2 separate regions of the Homo sapiens genome follow, and region 2 is linked to region 1. Evidence: promoter capture Hi-C in 16 types of primary human blood cells and fetal thymus (Javierre and others, 2016). All regions are on one chromosome and are shown on one strand. The core of a region is centred on a gene start or on the middle of the fragment in contact, and the rest is flanking DNA. Distances in the headings are between cores, read along the strand shown.

Region 1 (6,545 bases), core at 887-3,386:
TTGTGCCTCAGCCTCCTGAGTAGCTGGGATTACAGGCGCACACCACCATGCCCAACTAATTTCTGTATTTTTAGTAGAGACGGGGGTTTCACCATGCTGGCCAGGCTGGTCTTGAACTCCTAACCTCAGGTGGTCTGTCTGCCTCAGCCTCCCAAAGTGCTGGGATTACAGGTGTGAGCCACTGCACAGGGCCCAGCTTCCCCTAAAAATGTTAACGTCTTACCTAACCATAGTAAGAGGATCAGAACCAGGAAATTGCAGATCTTATGTGAATTTTGCCCGCTCTCCTGCTACTGTCCTTTCCTGTTCCATGTTCCCAACCAGCATCCCATGTTCCATTTAGTTGTTGTATCTATCCCCTTAGGGACGATTCCTAGATTGTGACAGTTTCTCAGTCTTTGTCTTTCAAGACCCAAAGTGTCCAAGGACACTTTTGATGGGTACTGGTTAATCACTTTGTAGAACAGGTCTCAATCTGGGTTTGTCTGGTGTTTTCTTGCGATTGGATTGAGATTACACACTTCTGCAGGAATACCACCACAATATGTTGCTTTTAGTTTTTTCCTCCTTTATTGTGGTAAAATACACTCAACATAACATTTACCATTTAAACCACTTTATTTTATTTTATTATTATTTTTTGAGATGGAGTTTCACTCTTGTTGCCCAGGCTGGAGTGTAATGGTGCGAACTCAGCTCACCACAACCTCCGCCTCCCGGGTTCAAGCAATTCTCCTGCCTCGGCCTCTCGAGTAGCTGGGATTACAGGCATGTGCCACCACGTCCGGCTAATTTTTGTATTTTTAGTAGAGATGGGGTTTCTCCGTGTTGGTCAGGCTGGTCTCGAACTCCCGACCTCAGGTGATCCGCCCACCTCGGCCTCCCAAAGTGCTGGGATTACAGGCGTGAGCCACCGCTCCCGGCCTAAACCACTTTAAAGTGTATGATTCAAGGGCAGTATGTAGATTCATCCTGTTGGATCATTTCTAGACTTTTTCATCATCCTAAAACGAAACCCCAAGCTGCTTATCTTCCTCCCCTAGCACCTGGCAACCTCCAATCTGTGTCGCCTCTACGGATTTGCCAATTCGAGACATTTCATCTGGATGGAATCATACGCTATGTGGCCTTTTTTGTTTGGCTTCTTTCACTAGCATAACGTTTCCCGGGTTCCTCCACACTGCAGCATGCATCGGTGCTCCATTCCTTTTTGTAGCCGAATAATATTCCATTGCATGGACAGATCACATTTTACTTTTATTTTCTAATTCAACAGTGAGACCTGGTGTGGGCCCCGGCGCTGGGCCTGGGAGGCGAGGGAGGGGATGGAAGAGAGCCCCGTGACTGGCAGGAGGCACTGTGGAGTGTGGGGAGAAGGGGTCGGGATCTGCATGCTAGAGAGAATAGGATTTTATTTACACGTGGCAATGTTTATGGAGGCCAATGCACAACTGCCATTATGGGACGCGGACTCCTTTGAAAGTCTCATTTGTGTAAAAGGAAAAGCAGTAGTTCATGAGGAGGGGGAGAAGGGCTCAAGGACAGCAAGGTAAACTACCCCTGGGGCGGGGGAACGTGGTCGTCGGTGGGCCCAGCTTTGGAGGCTAGGCCCGTGAAGGTCGCCCCGTGAGCAGGTCCAGGGCAGGCCGAGTGCCCCGGGGCCCGCATTCATTGCTTACAGAGCAAGGGGAGCCTCCCGGGAGGGAAATCCAACGGTTGGAAACTTCGATTTATCCCAAAGGCGTGCCGAGTGGGAAGGCAACATTTTGATTTCCCAAACGTTGCGGCCAGCGGCTTCTTCCACGGCAGGCGCCTTCAGGTCTCTCCGCAGGGTCGGGACCCCGGGCGGCGCGCGGCCTCTGGGACGCCGAGGGAGGGCGGGCCCACAGCGCCCGGAGCGCGGACAGCGGCCACAGCCCGCCGCCTAGAAGCGGCGCCGCCCGGGGCGGGGGGCGGAGCCGAGCGCGCGCCCCGCCCCGCCCCGCCCCGCCCCGCAGCCCCAGCCCAGCGCGCGCACCAAGGCGGGGCGGCGCGCGGCCCGTGCGCGTGTCCGGGGCCAGGAGGCGGTGGCGGCGAGCGCGGGCCGCGCGTGCGCGCTGCGGCTGGGCGAGGGGCGGCGCGGGCGCGCGTCTGTCAGTGACAGCGGGCGGGGCAGGGGCCGGAGATGGTGGCGGCGGCAGCTCTTCCGACATGAGGCAGCGGCCGCGGGGGACACGGCGGCGGGCGCGGCGGCGGCCGCATCTCTAGCTCGGGGAGGCGGCCCCCGGCGTGGGCGCGGGCGGGCGGGCGTCCCGGCCGGCGTCGCGGGAGCCCGGCTCTGCGGCAGCGTCTGCACCGCCGCCCGGCGAGGGGCCCGCGTCCGTGGTTCCACGCGCTCGGTCCCGGGACAGCTGCGGCCGCGGCGGGAGCGGCGGCGCACTCGGGGGGAAGCAGGCCCCACTAGACGGGCCGCGCCGACGGGCTCCGCGCACTCGCAGCCCGGGGCGCCCCCACCCCCAGCGCCCGCCGCCGCGGGCAGGGCCGGCCCGGAGCGCGGGGGGCGGCCGGGGAGCGCGAGCCGGGGGCGCCCGCCGAAGCTCGCTGCTCCGGGTCGGGGTCCGGGCCCGGGGCCGGCCGCGCGCCGCCTTTGACGCATCGGAGCGCGGCTCCTGCAGGATGGAGGGCTCCGCGCCGCCAGCGGAGTTGTTTGTGCGCAGGCGGCTCGCGGGGCTGGGAGCGCTCAAGGTCTGAACTTCCCTCCGGAGCCGCAGCTGGAGGAGGCGAGCGCGCGAGGAGGAGAAGCCGCGCGGCGCGGAGGCCACCCTCGGGGCGAGAGGCGCGGAAGGCGAGCGAGCAAAGCGGTCCCGGAGCCACGGCGGCCACGCGGCGGGGACCCCCGGGCGTTCTAGGTCCGTCCCGAGCGGTTCTCGTGCGCCTCGAAGGTGGGGGCGGTGGGGGCGGTGGGAGCACCGCTGAGCCGGGAACCACAGGAACAGATGGTGCCTGTCCAGGTCGCGTGCTGGAGCCGCCCCTTAGGACAGGAGCAGGTCCCGGGCCTCTAGGCGTGCATGCCTAGGTGGGAGCGCCGCTAACTCTCCCCGTTTTGCTGGCAGGTACTGGTGACCCCGGCCGGGGCAGGCCCCGGGACTCGACAACATGGCTTCCCCACCCCACCAGCAGCTGCTGCATCACCACAGCACCGAGGTGAGCTGCGACTCCAGCGGGGACAGCAACAGCGTGCGCGTCAAGATCAACCCCAAGCAGCTGTCCTCCAACAGCCACCCCAAGCACTGCAAATACAGCATCTCCTCTAGCTGCAGCAGCTCTGGGGACTCCGGGGGCGTCCCCCGGCGAGTGGGCGGCGGAGGCCGGCTGCGCAGGCAGAAGAAGCTGCCCCAGCTGTTCGAGAGGGCCTCCAGCCGCTGGTGGGACCCCAAGTTCGACTCGGTGAACCTGGAGGAGGCCTGCCTGGAGCGCTGCTTCCCGCAGACCCAGCGCCGGTTCCGGTATGCGCTCTTCTACATCGGCTTCGCCTGCCTTCTGTGGAGCATCTATTTTGCGGTCCACATGAGATCCAGACTGATCGTCATGGTCGCCCCCGCGCTGTGCTTCCTCCTGGTGTGTGTGGGCTTCTTTCTGTTTACCTTCACCAAGCTGTACGCCCGGCATTACGCGTGGACCTCGCTGGCTCTCACCCTGCTGGTGTTCGCCCTGACCCTGGCTGCGCAGTTCCAGGTCTTGACGCCTGTCTCAGGACGCGGCGACAGCTCCAACCTTACGGCCACAGCCCGGCCCACAGATACTTGCTTATCTCAAGTGGGGAGCTTCTCCATGTGCATCGAAGTGCTCTTTTTGCTCTATACCGTCATGCACTTACCTTTGTACCTGAGTTTGTGTCTGGGGGTGGCCTACTCTGTCCTTTTCGAGACCTTTGGCTACCATTTCCGGGATGAAGCCTGCTTCCCCTCGCCCGGAGCCGGGGCCCTGCACTGGGAGCTGCTGAGCAGGGGGCTGCTCCACGGCTGCATCCACGCCATCGGGGTCCACCTGTTCGTCATGTCCCAGGTGAGGTCCAGGAGCACCTTCCTCAAGGTGGGGCAATCCATTATGCACGGGAAGGACCTGGAAGTGGAAAAAGCCCTCAAAGAGAGGATGATTCATTCCGTGATGCCAAGAATCATAGCCGATGACTTAATGAAGCAGGGAGATGAGGAGAGTGAGAATTCTGTCAAGAGGCATGCCACCTCGAGCCCCAAGAACAGGAAGAAAAAGTCTTCCATCCAAAAAGCTCCTATAGCCTTCCGCCCTTTTAAGATGCAGCAGATCGAAGAAGTCAGTATTTTATTTGCAGATATCGTGGGCTTCACCAAGATGAGTGCCAACAAGTCTGCCCACGCCCTGGTGGGTCTCCTGAACGATCTGTTCGGTCGCTTCGACCGCCTGTGTGAGGAGACCAAGTGTGAGAAAATCAGCACCCTGGGAGACTGTTACTACTGCGTGGCGGGCTGTCCCGAGCCCCGGGCCGACCATGCCTACTGCTGCATCGAGATGGGCCTGGGCATGATCAAGGCCATCGAGCAGTTCTGCCAGGAGAAGAAGGAGATGGTGAACATGAGAGTCGGGGTGCACACGGGCACCGTCCTTTGCGGCATCCTGGGCATGAGGAGGTTTAAATTTGACGTGTGGTCCAACGATGTGAACCTGGCCAATCTCATGGAGCAGCTGGGAGTGGCCGGCAAAGTTCACATTTCTGAGGCCACCGCAAAATACTTAGATGACCGGTACGAAATGGAAGATGGGAAAGTTATTGAACGGCTGGGCCAGAGCGTGGTTGCTGACCAGTTGAAAGGTATGTGCACTGCTTTACCTCGGCATCCCCCCTCCCTGATCCTGATTGTATTAAATTAAAAAAAAAAGCTTCCAGCCTCAGTGTCTGCAGACAGCTCAGGTATCTCAGAATGCCTTACCATGGGGGGATCTCAGGGTCAGTGTGACTTTTCTTTCAGCGGGTCAAATATCACAGATCTGTTCACACTGCAGAAAGGGACGCTGTGCAGAGATGACCTAGACGCGACCTTTAGAAGGAAGGAGAACTTTGAACGTGCATAACCACTGGTTGGCTGAAATGTGGGGGCACGTCCGGTGAATGTAAGGGTATGGAGCCCTTCAGCATTCAGCACTGTTTAGCACTTAAGGAAATTGCCTTTGCATTCATTTGGTCACCCTGAAGTCCCATCCAAATGTTTCTCTCTGCCCTTTTTGCGAAAACGTGGAGAATAAAATCTTTCTCCTCTCTAGGCCTCACTTTGCTTATCCTCAAAATAGGGATAGGAAGTCGGCGCAGTCCTGCAGGTCTCTGGAGAATTAGACGGAGTTACTTACCTCTGAGTACACACTGTCTTTTATCTAGGTCTTTTTTTTTTTTTAAAAAAAGTTTGCATTTTCAGCTTTCAGCCATCATTTGTTTAAGGATATTTTATTATCATAGTATTTGCCTTAAGTGAAGAGCTTCATATTGAGCTTCTCCAGCCACCAGGTGATTTGGAAGGGAGAAACGTACCTGCCGGAGAGCTGGTATTCCCCTCCCTCATCCTCTCAGGTTTGGATCTGGTGCCTGGTCCCTGGTTTGAAGCTCCTTACTGCTATTCTTGATGTTTTTACTGGGCTGCTTGTTTTTTCTAATATAGGACAAAAGTCTTTGAGATCTGGAAAATGATATTAAAATAAGTAGGACGAAAAAGAAAGATTTTAAGTAATCTGCTACATTTCTTCCCCCACTTCCTCCTTTTTAAACAGTCCTTATGTTTTACTAAAATCTTCAGGATTGAGGGGAACATCTGTTGTGGAAGTATGTAGAGAAAATAACACTGATTTTTTTTAAAAGCCTGCTTTTGTGAAGCTGTATTGTATTTTGTGGTCCCCACACACTGCATACTTAAACAGTTAAAAGCCTCAGGAAAGGGAATCCTCGGAAGAAGTAATTAATAGTTCCAATCAGAGATGGCAGAAGTAATAGTTTCAATCAGAGACGGCAGAAGTAATAGTGTCAGTCAGAGACGTCCAGTGGTTGAGGTAGGGCCTGCATAGGTCGTTGGTGTGAGATCATCCTATGTGTCCAGTTGGCATTCTCTTTCTCTGGCTTGTGATCTGAGCTCCTGTATCTTTTATGTATTTGTTCTCTGGCAAGGGAACATCATCTTTCTTCTGATTTTTCTTTATTTTACTAACTTTGCTGTTGAAGATTTTATGGATGTAGACGAAAACTATTTTCACCCGAGAATTCCCCTAACCTAGAGCACTTTAAGGACTATGTTAACAAGGTCAGAAACTACACTTTCTGTTCACTTGAAAGATGCTGCCGTGATGAGTGTCTTTCCGTTTAGGGCGGTGGCACTCGCTCTTGAGTCTGAAGGTGTCAGTGGACGGGGCTGTGGGTGTAACCCCCTGCTTGCCACCTTGGCATTTTTAGGGCCCAGGTGTTGTGAGCTCTGTCCTTGGAGACTGTGGGACGGTGGAGCTGGGCGGCAGTACGTTAAATTAAATATGTTGGCCCAGAGGACAATGAG
Region 2 (7,483 bases), core at 1,887-4,386, 140 kb before region 1:
GCCAACATTCCACTAACCCCCGAGACTCAGCGGGACCAGGAGCGGCGGATTCGGCGGGAGATCGCCAACAGCAACGAGCGGAGACGCATGCAGAGCATCAACGCGGGATTCCAGTCCCTCAAGACCCTCATCCCCCACACAGACGGAGAGAAGCTCAGCAAGGTGGGTGAGAGCAGGGAGGGCTTCCTGGAGGAGCCGGCAGGTTCCCGCTGGGAGAGGAAAGTGAGCTCTGGTAAACACTGCCAGCCTGACTCTCGGCTTTTCCACGCCCTCAGGCAGCCATTCTCCAGCAGACAGCCGAGTACATCTTCTCCCTGGAGCAGGAGAAGACCAGGCTCTTGCAGCAGAACACACAGCTCAAGCGCTTCATCCAGGTGCGCCCTGTCCTTCATGGCTCCCTCTCCCTGGCATGGGCATGCCTTGGACCCAGCCATGGGCCTGGGACTCAGGTGTGGCTGCAGGCCCCTTCTTGCCCACTGACAAGTACTTCCAGGCACTTTTTTTCCTGCCCCGGCCTCAGTTTCCCCATCGGTCAAGTGCGGTGGAGTGGGCTCTGGAAGGAGCCAGGTGACTGTTATGTAAAGCAGCCCATTCTCCTGGCATTTGGCTGGTTTGTTGGACTTGCAGAAGGGGCTCCCTAATGAAGATTCACCTGTGTTGGGCAGCTTTGGGGGGCTGCGATGGAACCCCAATCTCCGTGGTGGTACCGAGGTGTCAGGCACACTGACCGACTCCTTGGGGTCCCCAGGAGCTGAGCGGCTCGTCCCCCAAGCGACGGCGGGCAGAGGACAAGGACGAAGGCATAGGCTCCCCGGACATCTGGGAGGACGAGAAGGCGGAGGACCTGCGGCGGGAGATGATTGAGCTGCGGCAGCAGCTGGACAAGGAGCGCTCGGTGCGCATGATGCTGGAGGAGCAGGTGAGGCAGCGCCCTCTGCTGGGCACGGCGCGCGGTGCAGAGGGCGTGGAGCCTGGGGTCGCGCCTCTTGCTCTGCGGCCCTCGGTGGAGCCCTATTTACAGGAGCACCTACTGCGGTGCCAGGCCTAGGAGTGGGGAGCAAGCCAGACACGTCTCTGCCCTTGGGGGCCACCGTCTGCGTTGGGGTGGGGGAGATTAGCCAAAGGATCTCAAAAATGTAACCATGCTGTGGGAGGCCGAGGCGGGTGGATCACCTGAGGTCAGCAGATCGATACCATCCTGGCTAACACGGTGAAACCCCGTCTCTACTAAAAATACAAAAAAAAAAAAAATTAGCCGGGCGTGGTGGTGGGTGCCTGTAGTCCCCGCTGTTTGGGAGGCTGAGGCAGGAGAATGGCGTGAACCTGGGAGGCAGAGCTTGCAGTGAGCCGAGATCGTGCCACTGCACTCCAGTCTGGGAGACAGAGCGAGACTCCATCTCAAAAAAAAAAAAATGTAACCGTGATGGGCTGGGTATGGTGGCTCACACCTATAATCCCAGCACTTTGCGGGGCTGAGGTGGGAGGATCGCTTGAGCCCAGGAGTTTGAGATCAGCCTGGGAAGCATAGTGAGACTCTGTCTCTACCAAAAAAGATACAAAAATTAGCCAGGTGTGGTGGGGTGTGCCTGTAGTCCCGGTTACTCAGGAGGCTGAGCTGGGAGGATTGCTTGAGCCCAGGAGGTGGAGGCTGCAGTGAGCCATGATTGTGCCACTACACTGCAGCCTGAGTGACAGAAGGAGACCATGGCTCAAAAAAACCAAAAAACAAAAACAAAAAACCATATTGAAGGCCAGGCTGGAGCTGTGGCATCAGGAGGGGTTTTTCAAGGGACGCCCCACGGCATCTCCATGGAAGTGGGAAGTTGAGTCTCATAGTTAACCAAAGGACAGAGAAAGGTGTTCCCGGCAGAGGGAATAGCATAGGCAAAGACTCGGGCAGGAGGGAGCATGGTCCAGTGGAGGCCGAGGTGGGAGGCGAGAGGAGCCGGGGGCTGAAGGGCTCTGGAAAGGCTTCTGGCCTCTGTTGAGAGGGGCCCGCCCTGTGCTAGGGTTTTCAGCAGGAGTGAATGAGCTGCTGTGAGACTGACAGGGCAGGGTGTGCTCCCGGCCTTGGCCCTGAGCCCAGGTTGTCCTGCCTCCAGGTGCGCTCGCTGGAGGCCCACATGTACCCGGAAAAGCTCAAGGTGATTGCGCAGCAGGTGCAGCTGCAGCAGCAGCAGGAACAGGTGAGGCTGCTGCACCAGGAGAAGCTGGAGCGGGAACAGCAGCAGCTGCGGACCCAGGTGAGCAGGAGGCGCCCGGGAGTGGGCTCTGGGGACCGGGAAGGGGACAGGTGATCTTGAATGGCGGAAGCCTCTCCCTAGGCCACGTCCTCTCTGCTTCTTAATATAAAGGGGCAGAGGCAGTTATACATTGGCCAGCTCTGCATGAAAGGGAGGTGGATGGGCCAAGAGAAGCCTTGAGAGAAAGGCTGAGGGCCTCTGTCTTGCAGCTTCTGCCCCCTCCGGCCCCCACCCACCACCCCACGGTGATCGTGCCAGCACCGCCTCCTCCTCCCTCCCACCACATCAATGTCGTCACCATGGGCCCCTCCTCGGTCATCAACTCTGTTTCCACATCCCGGCAAAATCTGGACACCATCGTGCAGGTACCTGAGCTTGAGAAAGGGGCAGCTTGTGGGGGTCATACTCCGGGAACAGGCTCTTTAGGGGAGACTGGAAAAGAGGGGCAGAAGCGGAGGAAGATGGTGCTTGTGTGGGAAGGGGTGGAGGGCTGGAAGCCTTGGGGGGCCCCGTCCCTGGATCTGCAAGTGGAGAATGTGAGGGCCAGAGATCGGGGCAGGGCCTACCACGCCAGTAGGAGGAGTTGGCCAGGAAGACTGTCCCTTCCCTCAATATGGGGTTTCCGGAGAGGGTCCTTTGCTCCCAGAGCCCCCTGGTTACAGAGTTCCTGCATCCAGCTCTTGGGTTGGTCCGGAACATTGTCTCAGCTCCATCTCCTAGGACCTGGATGGAGATACAGGTGGCAGGGCTGGTGATAGTTGGGCCTCCTACAGAGGAGGAAGCTTTGTGGGTCAAGCCTGAAGTTACAGTTGCATTCACCCTTGAACAGGGCCCCTTGAGGAGCCCAAGATCAGAAATCAGTAAATAATAAATAAATAACCAAAAAAGCCAAAACAGGAAAAAAAATCCATCAATCTCCTCGAATTTTAATTGCTCATAAACTTTGCAAATTGTGTAATACAATTAATAACAAACGCCTTTAATAAGTTAATAGGCAAGCTTTAAAATACATAAACATATGGCCGGGTGTGGTGGCTCACACCTGCAATCCCAGCACTTTGGGAGGCCAAAGTGGGTGGATCACTTGAGGTCAGGAGTTCGAGACCAGCCTGGCCAACATGGTGAAAACCCCATCTCTATTAAAAATACAAAAATTAGCCTGACGTGGTGGTGCACGCCTGTAATCCCAGCTATTCGGGAGGCTGAGGCAGGAGAATCGCTTGAACATGGGAGGTGGAAGTTGCAGTGAGCTGAGATTGCACCACTGAACTCCAGCCTGGGTGACACGGTGAGACTCTTTCTCAAAAAACAAACAAACAAAAACATATGAAAGGTCCATATTATTTCTTTTTTTTTCTTTTTTTTTGAGATAGAGTTTCGCTCTTATTGCCCAGGCTGGAGTGCAATGGTGCTATCTCAGCTCATCGCAACCTCCTCCTCCCAGGTTCAAGTGATTCTCCTGCCTCAGCCTCCCAAGTAGCTGGGATTATAGGCATGTGCCACCACGCCTGGCAAATTTTGTATTTTTAGTAGGCTTCTGGCCTCTGTTGAGGGGCTGGTCTCGAACTCCTGACGTCAGGTGATCCTCCCGTCTTGGCCTCCCAAAGTGTTGGGATTACAGGCGTGAGCCACTGCGCCTGGCTGATACATATAATATAATTTCTAAGCAGCACTGGGACTGTCATCTTCCCAGAATGGATTTTTCAACTTAACAGAGGGGTTTTGAAAGTTTGTTCCTGGGTCAGGCGTGGTGGCTTATGCCTGTAATCCCGGGACTTTTGGAGGTTGAGGCAGGAAGATTGCCTGAGGTCAGGAGTTCGAGATCAGCTTGGGCAACATAGCAAGAACCCCCTCGTCTCTACCAAAAATACAGAAGTTAGCTGGGGATGGTGGCGCACCCCTGTGGTTCCAGCTACTAGGGAGGGAGCAGTAGGAGGATCGCTGGAGCCCAGGAGTCTGACTGCAGTAAGCTATGATCATGCCACTGCACTCTAGCCTGGGTGATATAGCGAGAGCTTGTCTCCAAAAAAAAAGTAAAAGGAGTTTGTTTTTCCTGTACTCTAGCGGGCCTCCCCTGCTGCTTTGCCAGGCTTTTTTCTGGGCTATGTGTTTTGGGGGTGACAGTGGCTGGCTGAGAGCCCCCACTGTCTCCTGGCTGGCCATGTATCCCCGGCCGAGCCTTCTCAGTGGTTCGTCCCTGTCCAGGCAATCCAGCACATCGAGGGCACCCAGGAAAAGCAGGAGCTGGAGGAGGAGCAGCGGCGAGCTGTCATCGTGAAGCCTGTCCGCAGCTGCCCGGAGGCCCCCACCTCTGACACCGCCTCCGACTCCGAGGCCTCAGACAGTGACGCCATGGACCAGAGCCGGGAGGAGCCGTCGGGGGACGGGGAGCTTCCCTGACTACCCCCCCAGCCCTCCTCTCCCTTCTGGGGGCTGGAGGGAGCCGGGGCAGCCACAGGGAGAGACATGGGCGAATGAGTGAGAAATTTTTACAAAATTACGATGTCATTTGGGTCTCTTTTATGACCTCTTTTTCAATACTGTAAATCGACCTTTGAACGAAGCCACTCAACCCGAGGTCCCGGGGCTGGGGTGTCGCAGAGCGTGTGGGAGCATCGGCACCCCAGGGCGGGGCCTCGGCCCCGGGGGCTGGAGGAAGCTGACACGGAGATGCCTGGCCTCTCTCTGCCAAAAAGCATTTTTTCCTTTAAATATGTTTTTTAAGAACAGGGAAAATTAAACAAAACCCCAGGTTATTTCTTCCCTGCCCAGAGCCAGCCTGGGATTGTCAGCCTTCAATCCCCTTTCCTTCCTCTTTTTGGGTTTTCTTCTTTCTCCTTTAAGCACTTACATGGTTGGGGGTAAGACTAGGCTGGGGCATTCTGGGGGCCCGGAGGTCTCCGTTGCTTCTTGGTTGGGGTTTGCTGCTGCTGTGCCCCCCTCCCCCTTCCCCATCTCGGCACTAGAATTCGCCACTCTCCCACCCCCCAGCCCCCACCTCTGCCTCCAGGTCTCATCTTCCACCCCAAAAATGTCTGTCTCTCTCTTTTTGTTTTGTTTGTTGTTGGTTTTTTATTTCTTTTTGGTTTGCTTTCTGTTTTTGTTTTGTTTTTCTTTTTTTTCTTTCTTTTTTTTTTTTTTTTACAATTTTGAGGTCTTCGTGTTCAAGGAGAAGCTATTATATTTTGTTAAGAAAGTGGGGAGAAAAAAACCAAGAGGCCACCGTGCCTTTGTAAAGAAACAAAATAAAGTTTGTACTTTGTTTTTTAGATTCTGAGTCTCCTGGGTGTGGGCTGGCCTGAAGACCAGGGCAGGGCTACCCCATCTAGAGTAGGGGGGCTCCTTGGGCCCCCCAAAGCGGACTGGGTGTGTGTGAGCACAGTTACTCCCTCAGCTTGTGTGTGGTGTTGCGATGAAAAATTGGGGTCCTCAGTTTCCCTGGGATGACCCTGGGTATTCTGTAAAGATGGAAGATGGTGTTGAGGCTGGGGAGTGGCTCTTTGGTGGGCGGCAAGGAGAGAAGGACAACCAAGCCACCGATTCCGAAAACCTGGGAAAGGACACAGGTGTTCAGGGGCCCTGCTTGGTCCCTACGCTTTGGTTAATCCCTAGGTTTTGCCACTTCCTGGGCTTCTGTAACTTCTCTGAGCCTCATCCTCTCCTCCCCTAGGAGGGGAACCCCACCCCCTCCAACCGCACCCCCCCAGCACCCCCCTGCCCCCCCGTGGTGTGGTGTTTAAGTGCTAAGATCCTGGAATTGGTCTGCCAGAGGTCAGTTCCCCCTCTGACAAACCGCTTCCTCTGAGCCTCAATTTCTTCTTCTAAAAATTGGCGATAATAACGGCACAAGGACATTGCATCCTATTGGGGATTGGCATGGTCCTTTATTTCGAGACAGAGTCTCTGTCTCCCAGTCTGGAGTGCAGTGGCGTGATCTCGGCTCACTGCATCCTCTATCTCCTGGGTTCAAGCAATCTTCTTGCCTCAGCCTCTCAAGTAGCTGGGACTACGGGAGTGCACCACCATGCCCAGCTAATTTTTGTATTTTTAGTAGAGACAGGGTTTCACCATGTTGACCAGGCTGGTCTTGAACTCCTGACCTCAAGTGATCCGCCTACCTCGGCCTCCCAAAGTTCTGGGATTAAAGGGATGAGCCACCATGCCTGGCTATTTTTAAATTTTTATTATTATTTTTTGGTGTGAGATGGGGTCCTGCTCTGTCGCCCAGGCTGCAGTGCAGTGTTTTGATCACAGTTCACTGCATCCTTGACCTCCTGGTCTCAAGTGATCCTCCCACCTCAGCCTCCCTAGTAGCTAGGACTACAGGCCTGTACCACAAAGCCTGGCTAATTTTTTTTTTTTTTTTTTTTTTTGAGATGGAGTCTTGCTGTGTCACCCAGGCTGGAATGCAATGGCACGATCTTGGCTCACTGGAACCTCTGCCTCACAGGTTCAAGCGATTCTCCTGCCTCAACCTCCTGAGTAGCTGGGACTACAGGCACCCACCATCATGCCCAGCTAATTTTTGTATTGTTAGTAGAGATGGGGTTTCACCATGTTGGCCAGGCTGGTCTTGAACTCCTGACCTCAGGTGATCCACCCACCTTGGCCTCCCAAAGTCCTGGGATTACAGGTGTGAGCCACCGTGCCTGGCCTGGGCCCGGCTGACTTTTTTATATTTTATTGTAGAGGCAGGGTTTTGCCATGTTGCCCAGGCTAGGCCATGGTCCTTTAAATCCTTCACTCTTCCGTGACCAGAGATCGATTTACACCGTGGTCCCCTCCTATGCCTCATGCTCACAGTGCTGGGTGCTTGGGGACTGAGGCCAGAGCAGAAGGCAGAATCACAGCTCACCCCACGATGACAGTGGACACGAACTCTTCACAGAAAGGCAGGAGTCTGCAGGTTTTCTTGGAATTTTACAGTGAACAATTCAATGGCACTTCATACATTCACAGTGTTACACAGCCTACCTGGTTCCAAAACATGTCCGTCACTCCAAAATGACTCCATGAAGCAGTCACTCCTTCCCCCTCCTCCCAGTCTCCAGCAACCACCTGCTTTCTGGTTTTAATATCTTTTTTAAAAAATTAAAGTAGTTGGCTGGGCGTGGTGGCTCACACCTGTAATCCCAGCACTTTGGGAGGCCGAGGCGGGTGGATCACATGAGGTCAGGAGTTCAAGACCAGCCTGGCCAACATGGTGAAACCCCAACTCTACTAAAATACAAAAATTAGGC

What was found. The method cuts DNA at HindIII sites, captures the fragments that hold promoters and counts their contacts. A CHiCAGO score of 5 or more calls a contact.
Region 2: a contact is called between a fragment that was not itself captured here and the fragment with the promoter of ADCY9 in region 1, in 5 of 17 cell types (M1 macrophages, M0 macrophages, M2 macrophages and 2 more). The highest score is 11.2, in M1 macrophages.

The regions. Positions count from the first base shown.
Region 1 is chr16:4,112,033-4,118,577 of GRCh38, reverse strand. ADCY9 (adenylate cyclase 9) reads left to right here and starts at 2,136. Exons shown (of 11, transcript NM_001116.4): 1 at 2,136-2,888; 2 at 3,093-4,828. The coding sequence starts at 3,136. RefSeq lists silencers at 1,929-1,998, 4,992-5,202. The HindIII fragment of the contact is 5,610 bases long and covers 1-4,898 here.
Region 2 is chr16:4,255,215-4,262,697 of GRCh38, reverse strand. TFAP4 (transcription factor AP-4) reads left to right here. Exons shown (of 7, transcript NM_003223.3): 2 at 1-162; 3 at 276-374; 4 at 749-919; 5 at 2,103-2,243; 6 at 2,453-2,608; 7 at 4,449-5,512. The coding sequence ends at 4,643. Among named protein-coding and RNA genes, the nearest start is that of LINC01569, 5.2 kb to the right of the region's middle. The HindIII fragment of the contact is 217 bases long and covers 3,028-3,244 here.